2 separate regions of the Homo sapiens genome follow, and region 1 is linked to region 2. Evidence: promoter capture Hi-C in 16 types of primary human blood cells and fetal thymus (Javierre and others, 2016). All regions are on one chromosome and are shown on one strand. The core of a region is centred on a gene start or on the middle of the fragment in contact, and the rest is flanking DNA. Distances in the headings are between cores, read along the strand shown. Region 1 overlaps SF3B3 (splicing factor 3b subunit 3). Region 2 holds the start of DDX19A (DEAD-box helicase 19A).

Region 1 (2,700 bases), core at 33-2,532, 200 kb after region 2:
CAGACCCAATTTAGAGCCATAGGTCTGGTTTTTGGTTTTTTGTTGTTGTTGTTTTTGTTTTTGTTTTTTTGAGTGCAGTGGTGAGACTTTGCTTCACTGTAGCCTCCAACGCCCAGTCTCAAGCAAGCAATTCTCCCACCTTAGCTTCTGGAGTAGCTGGGACTACAGGTGTGCGCCATCACGCTTGGCTAATTTATTTATTTATTTTTGGTAGAGACAGGGTCTTGCTATTTTGCCAGGGCTGGTCTTGAACTCCTGGGCTCAAGTGAGCCTCCCACTTCACCCTCCCAAAGTGTTGTGATTACAAGCGTGAGCCACCGCGCCTGGCCAAGAGCCATTGCTCTTGATTCGTTAGTTACTTATTTCTCATTGGATCCTAGTGAGCATATGATGAAAGCTAGTGCTTTACACAAAAAATGCATATGTGCGGCTGGGCACGGTGGCGCACGCCTGTAATTCCAGCACTTTAGGAGGCTGAAGCAGCTGGATCACCCAAGGTCAGGAGTTCGAGACCAGCCTGGCCAACATGGTGAAACCCCTTCTCTACTAAAACTACAAAAATGAGCCGAGAGTGGTGGTGGGTGTCTGTAATCCCAGCTACTCAGGAGACTAAGGCAGGAGAATAGCTTGAACTGGGAGGTAGAGGTTGCAGTGAGCCGAGATCACGCCACTGTACTCCAGCTTGGGCAAAAGAGTGATACTGTCTCTAAAAAAATGCATATGTGCATTAACAGAAAATTTTTGTATAGTGTAAGAGATAAATGACTCAAGAATCATTTTTTAGTTTCCTGCTACTTCTCTCCCCACTTCAAATCTATAGACAAACCTTTGTTATATATAAAAATATTTTCTGAGGTGGGCAGATCACGAGGTCAGGAGATCGAGACCATCTTGGCTAACACGGTGAAACCCCGTCTCTACTAAAAATACAAAAAGATTAGCCAGGCGTGGTGGCGGGCGCCTGTAGTCCCAGCTACTCAGGAGGCTGAGGCAGGAGAATGGCGTGAACCCGGGAGGTGGAGCTTGCAGTGAGCCAAGATCGCGCCATTGCACTCGAGCCTGGGCGACAGAGCGAGACTCCGTCTCAAAAAAAAAAAATTTTTTTTTAAATTGTTGAACGTTGCTTTATTCCTTTATGTCTATTTGTTACACCTTGTTGTCTAACTAGATTGTGGTCTCAATTGAGCCAGGGTGACTGACAGTTTTACATTTGGTATAGACTATAGCATAGTTGACAGTTGAATTTTATTGATGATGAAGTTCTTAGGTCTTCCTTCTAATTATACCAGTAAACTAGGAAAAGGGCTAGTCTTTCTGTGAATATACATGAATTCTTCCTATAAGATGTGGGTTACACGTTATATATAAGTGGCTAGTTTATTGTCTCTAGATCATTTAAAAACATTCAATAATTTTAATTTTATAATGATTTTAAATTTATAAAAAAATTGCAAAGACAGTACAGAGAGTTCCTGTATAACCTACACCCAGTTTTCCCCTCTAGATCATTTTGAATTTGGCTTAGATGTTTTGTTTACTCTTATGTTTGAGAACCTATAGGACATGTAGAGAATCATTCACTCTTGACTTTAAGGAGCATAAAAATCTAATCAGAAAGACAAAACAGTTAGTACCCTAAGAGGTGGTGACTGATTTCTTTCTTTTTTTTGGAGACGGAGTCTCGCTCAGTCACCCAGGCTGGAGTGCAATGATGCAATCTCAGCTCACCGCAACCTCCGCCTCCCGGGTTCAAGCGATTCTCCCGCCTCAGCCTCCCGAGTAGCTGGGATTACGGCACCCGCCATCATGCCTGGCTAATTTTTATATTTTTGCAGAGACGGGTTTCACCGTGTTGGCCAGCTGGTCTTGAACTCCTGACCTAAGGCAATCCACCCGCCTCGGCATCCCAAAGTGCTGGGATTTCAGGTGTGAGCCACTGGGCCCAGCCGGTGGTGACTGATTTCTATGAGTGCTTATAGAAGGGAGAGGTGACTGCCAGCCAAGGGGATAAGGGAATAATTTTGTTAAAGGAGGTGGCATTTGAATTGGTCCACATGGGATTTGGCCTTATGGGAGCTGGGGAAAGAAAGGGGATGCTAATTTAGATGGCCTGATTGATTCCCAGTGGTTACTGCTGTTCTGAGGATGATCAAGGCATATTGTACTTGAAGGAAAGGGGTATGGTTTTGCCTGCAGCAACTGTACCCTCTCAGACATCCTGTAACTTTTGCTTAAGACTGTCATGGGGATTGCCACTAAGAACCAGCCTGTTTGGTTCTTAGATTCTTCTTTCACTAGGTGGTTTCATCCTTTAAATACAGCATACGTTGTGAACCCTGCCTTTGAGACCTTATTTTTTGATGTGATTGTAAGCAGGTAGCTGAGTTGCATGCTCACTGGATCTGTGGCTTCCCTCTTCTCCTGTCAGGTGTCAGAAATGGCTGTTTCTGAGCTACCTGGTAACCCCAACGCTGTCTGGACAGTGCGTCGACACATTGAAGGTAAGCAGCTTTTTCCCAATAGTCAAAATGAGGATCTAGGTGCCATTGACATAGAAGGCTTGAAAGGCTGCGTTCATAATACTTCTGTATCATTTCATTTAGCACCATATACCAGAAACTTTCTGGCCCAACACTGTTTTTGAGGCTCTTCCGTTCAGGATGCCTTCACCTACCATTTCTTTTTGTGCAGGTGGGAAAG
Region 2 (2,700 bases), core at 123-2,622:
TTGCAGTGAGCCAAGACCCGGCCACTGCACTCCAGCCTGGGTGATATCTGTAAATAATGGTTCCATGAGTTTAGAAATACAAAGTAGCATGACTTAACAAATTTACACATCTATGTAACCAGGTCCCAATCAAGATACAGAATAATTCTATCACCCAGGAAGTTCTCTTGTGTCTGGACCAAACATCCTTCTCCACAGGTAAGCTCTGTTAGTTTTTATCAGCATAGATTTTATTTGTCCTATTCTTGAATCTCATATAAATAGATTATACATTATGTATTTGGTGGTCCTTCAACATAATGGCCAGGTGTGGTGGCTCATGCCTGTAATCCCAACACTTTGAGAGGCCAAGGCAGGAGGATCTCTGGAGTTAGCAGGAGATCAAAAGCAGCCTGAGCAATATAATGAAGACTTCCGTCTCTGCAAAAAGTTTAAAAACTAGCCAGGAGTGGTGGTGCGGGCCTGTGGGCCCAGCTACCTGGGAGGCTGAGGTGGGAGGTCAAGGGTGCAGTGAGCCGAGATCACACCACTGCATTCCAGCCTGGGCGACACAATGAGACCCTGACTCAAAAAAGAAACGAAAAAACGCATTGTGTGTTGTGTTTATTGGATGGTGGAATTATGGGGTTTACGGGTCTTCTGTTGCGTTTTGGTTTTTGTTTTCTTACCTGTTATCGCGTTCCTAACAGTAGAAATTGGCATCATATAGTATTCTCATGGAACTTTCCTTTGTTCAAAGCCCTACAGTTCAGAGACTTACACATTTAATGTGAGATATGACAGGCTTAAAAAGAAACGTTGGGGGCCGGGCGCGGTGGCTCACGCCTGTAATCCCAACACTTTGGGAGGCTGAGGCGGGAGGATCACAAGGTCAGCAGTTCGAGATCAGCCTGGCCAACATGGTGAAACCCCATCTCTACTAAAAATACAAAAATTAGCCGGGCGTGGTGGCGGGCACCTGTAATCCCAGCTACTCGGGAGGCTGAGGTAGAATAGCTTGAACACGGAGGCGGAGGTTGCAGTGAGTCGAGATCCCGCCACGGCACTCCAGCCTGGGACAGAGCGAGACTCCGTCTCGAAAAAAAATAATAAAATAAATAATAAAATAAATAAAATAAAATAAACGTTGGCTTATTTCAGTGTGAAGTAAGGCAATAAACGGAGGGCTAACAGTTCCACTTCGTAGAGCTCAGACATTTTAAGAAGCGAGGAGGCCGCGTCCTGGAAGGGTGAGCAAAAAGCGCGAGGTTTGCGCACGAAGGGAAAGGCGAGGCCCGAGGAGAGACCTGGCGCCGCGCAGAATGATGATGTCGCACGCTGGGTGGGAACTGACGTCACCTGTGCTCACCGCCGCTTCCGGTCCGCGTGAGGTGCATTCTCGCGCCGGTGGCGAGGTTAGGGCCCGCGTTGCGACGTGGTGCAGCGCATATTTTCACAAGTGGGTCTCCCTTGTCCGGGACTATGGCCACCGACTCGTGGGCCCTGGCGGTGGACGAGCAGGAAGCGGCTGTCAAGTCGGTCAGTAGCTCAGCTCCTGGCGAGGAGGACGTAGCAGGGGCCCAAGCGAAACCTCCCAAAAGCACAGGGAGCTCCCCGGGTTGGGGAGGCCCCTGGGCAACGCGCTCCTGCAGTTTGCTAGGGCAGTCACTTGCCCTTGATTTGCTCTTAGAGCTAAAGAGACCAATGTCGAGCTTTTTATCTCCATCTGGGCTGGTTAAGGACTTCATCCTTTGGTAAATCCGCCCCACTATGCATGCTGTCATTCCTCTATTGACCTCCTCGGTGACGATTATAAGGAAAGCCAAGTTTAGATTCTGATTCTCTTTTTCATTACGCGACTGTTCTTCGCATGTTTCTGTACTACTCTGTATTTAACATTTCTTAGATCCATGCTTAACGTGGTTGGTAGTTTGTAGCTCTTTGCAGAATAACAGATTGACTTTTGGATTTAATACCTCAATCTACTGCAGATGTTGGAAGGAGGCACTACAAATTGTTTCATTGATGTGTAAAGTAACGGTTTCATGTACTTGTTCTTTCAGTAATGAATATTCATTCAACTGGAATGTAATTACAGCATACACTGTGGCTTTCTGTTCTTATATCTAAGACCTAAACTTTAGGTTTGTTTAGTGATAATGGACTGTCTTTTTTTTTGTTGTAGTTGTTTCTCTTTTGAGGCAGAGTTTTGCTCTTGTTGCCCAGGCTGGAGTGCAATGGCGCCATCTCGGCTCACCGCAACCTCCGCCTCCCGGGTTCAAGCGATTCTCCTGCCTCAGTCTCCCGAGTAGCTGGGATTACAGGCATGCGCCACCACGCCCGGCTAATTTTGTATTTTTTGTAGAGACGGGGTTTCTCCATGTTGGTCAGGCTGGTCTCGAACTCCCGACCTCAAGTGATCCGCCCACCTCGGCCTCCCAAAGTGCTGGGATTACAGCCGTGAGTCACCGCGCCCAGCCGGTATGGGGATTTTTGAGAGGGCTATTGACAGAATTAGACAAGGCTGGCAAGGATTTATTGAACTACAGAGAACAGAATATGTTAGAAGTGATGGCTAATAGAAATATCAGTGTAGAAGTTATTCTGATAGCCCCGAGATAGAGGGCCTATGTTGGGCAGTGGAAGTGAAAATTAAGGGATGGGTATAAGATATGAAGGTAGAATGGGTAGGACTTGCTAACATAATAAAGGAGAGAAGGG

What was found. Contacts are between HindIII fragments. The CHiCAGO score rates a contact against its expected background, and 5 or more counts as called.
Region 1: a contact is called between a fragment that was not itself captured here and the fragment with the promoter of DDX19A in region 2, in 3 of 17 cell types (activated CD4 T cells, non-activated CD4 T cells and erythroblasts). The highest score is 5.4, in activated CD4 T cells.

What each region holds. Positions count from the first base shown.
Region 1 is chr16:70,545,942-70,548,641 of GRCh38, forward strand. It overlaps SF3B3 (splicing factor 3b subunit 3), which reads left to right. Exons shown (of 26, transcript NM_012426.5): 11 at 2,429-2,501. Among named protein-coding and RNA genes, the nearest start is that of SNORD111, 9.3 kb to the left of the region's middle. The HindIII fragment of the contact is 3,294 bases long and covers 1-2,700 here.
Region 2 is chr16:70,345,531-70,348,230 of GRCh38, forward strand. It overlaps DDX19A (DEAD-box helicase 19A), which reads left to right and starts at 1,373. Exons shown (of 12, transcript NM_018332.5): 1 at 1,373-1,518. The coding sequence starts at 1,462. DDX19A-DT (DDX19A divergent transcript) reads right to left here and starts at 1,217. Exons shown (of 5, transcript NR_039997.1): 1 at 669-1,217. RefSeq lists enhancers at 373-991, 992-1,609, 1,128-1,617. The HindIII fragment of the contact is 29,277 bases long and covers 1-2,700 here.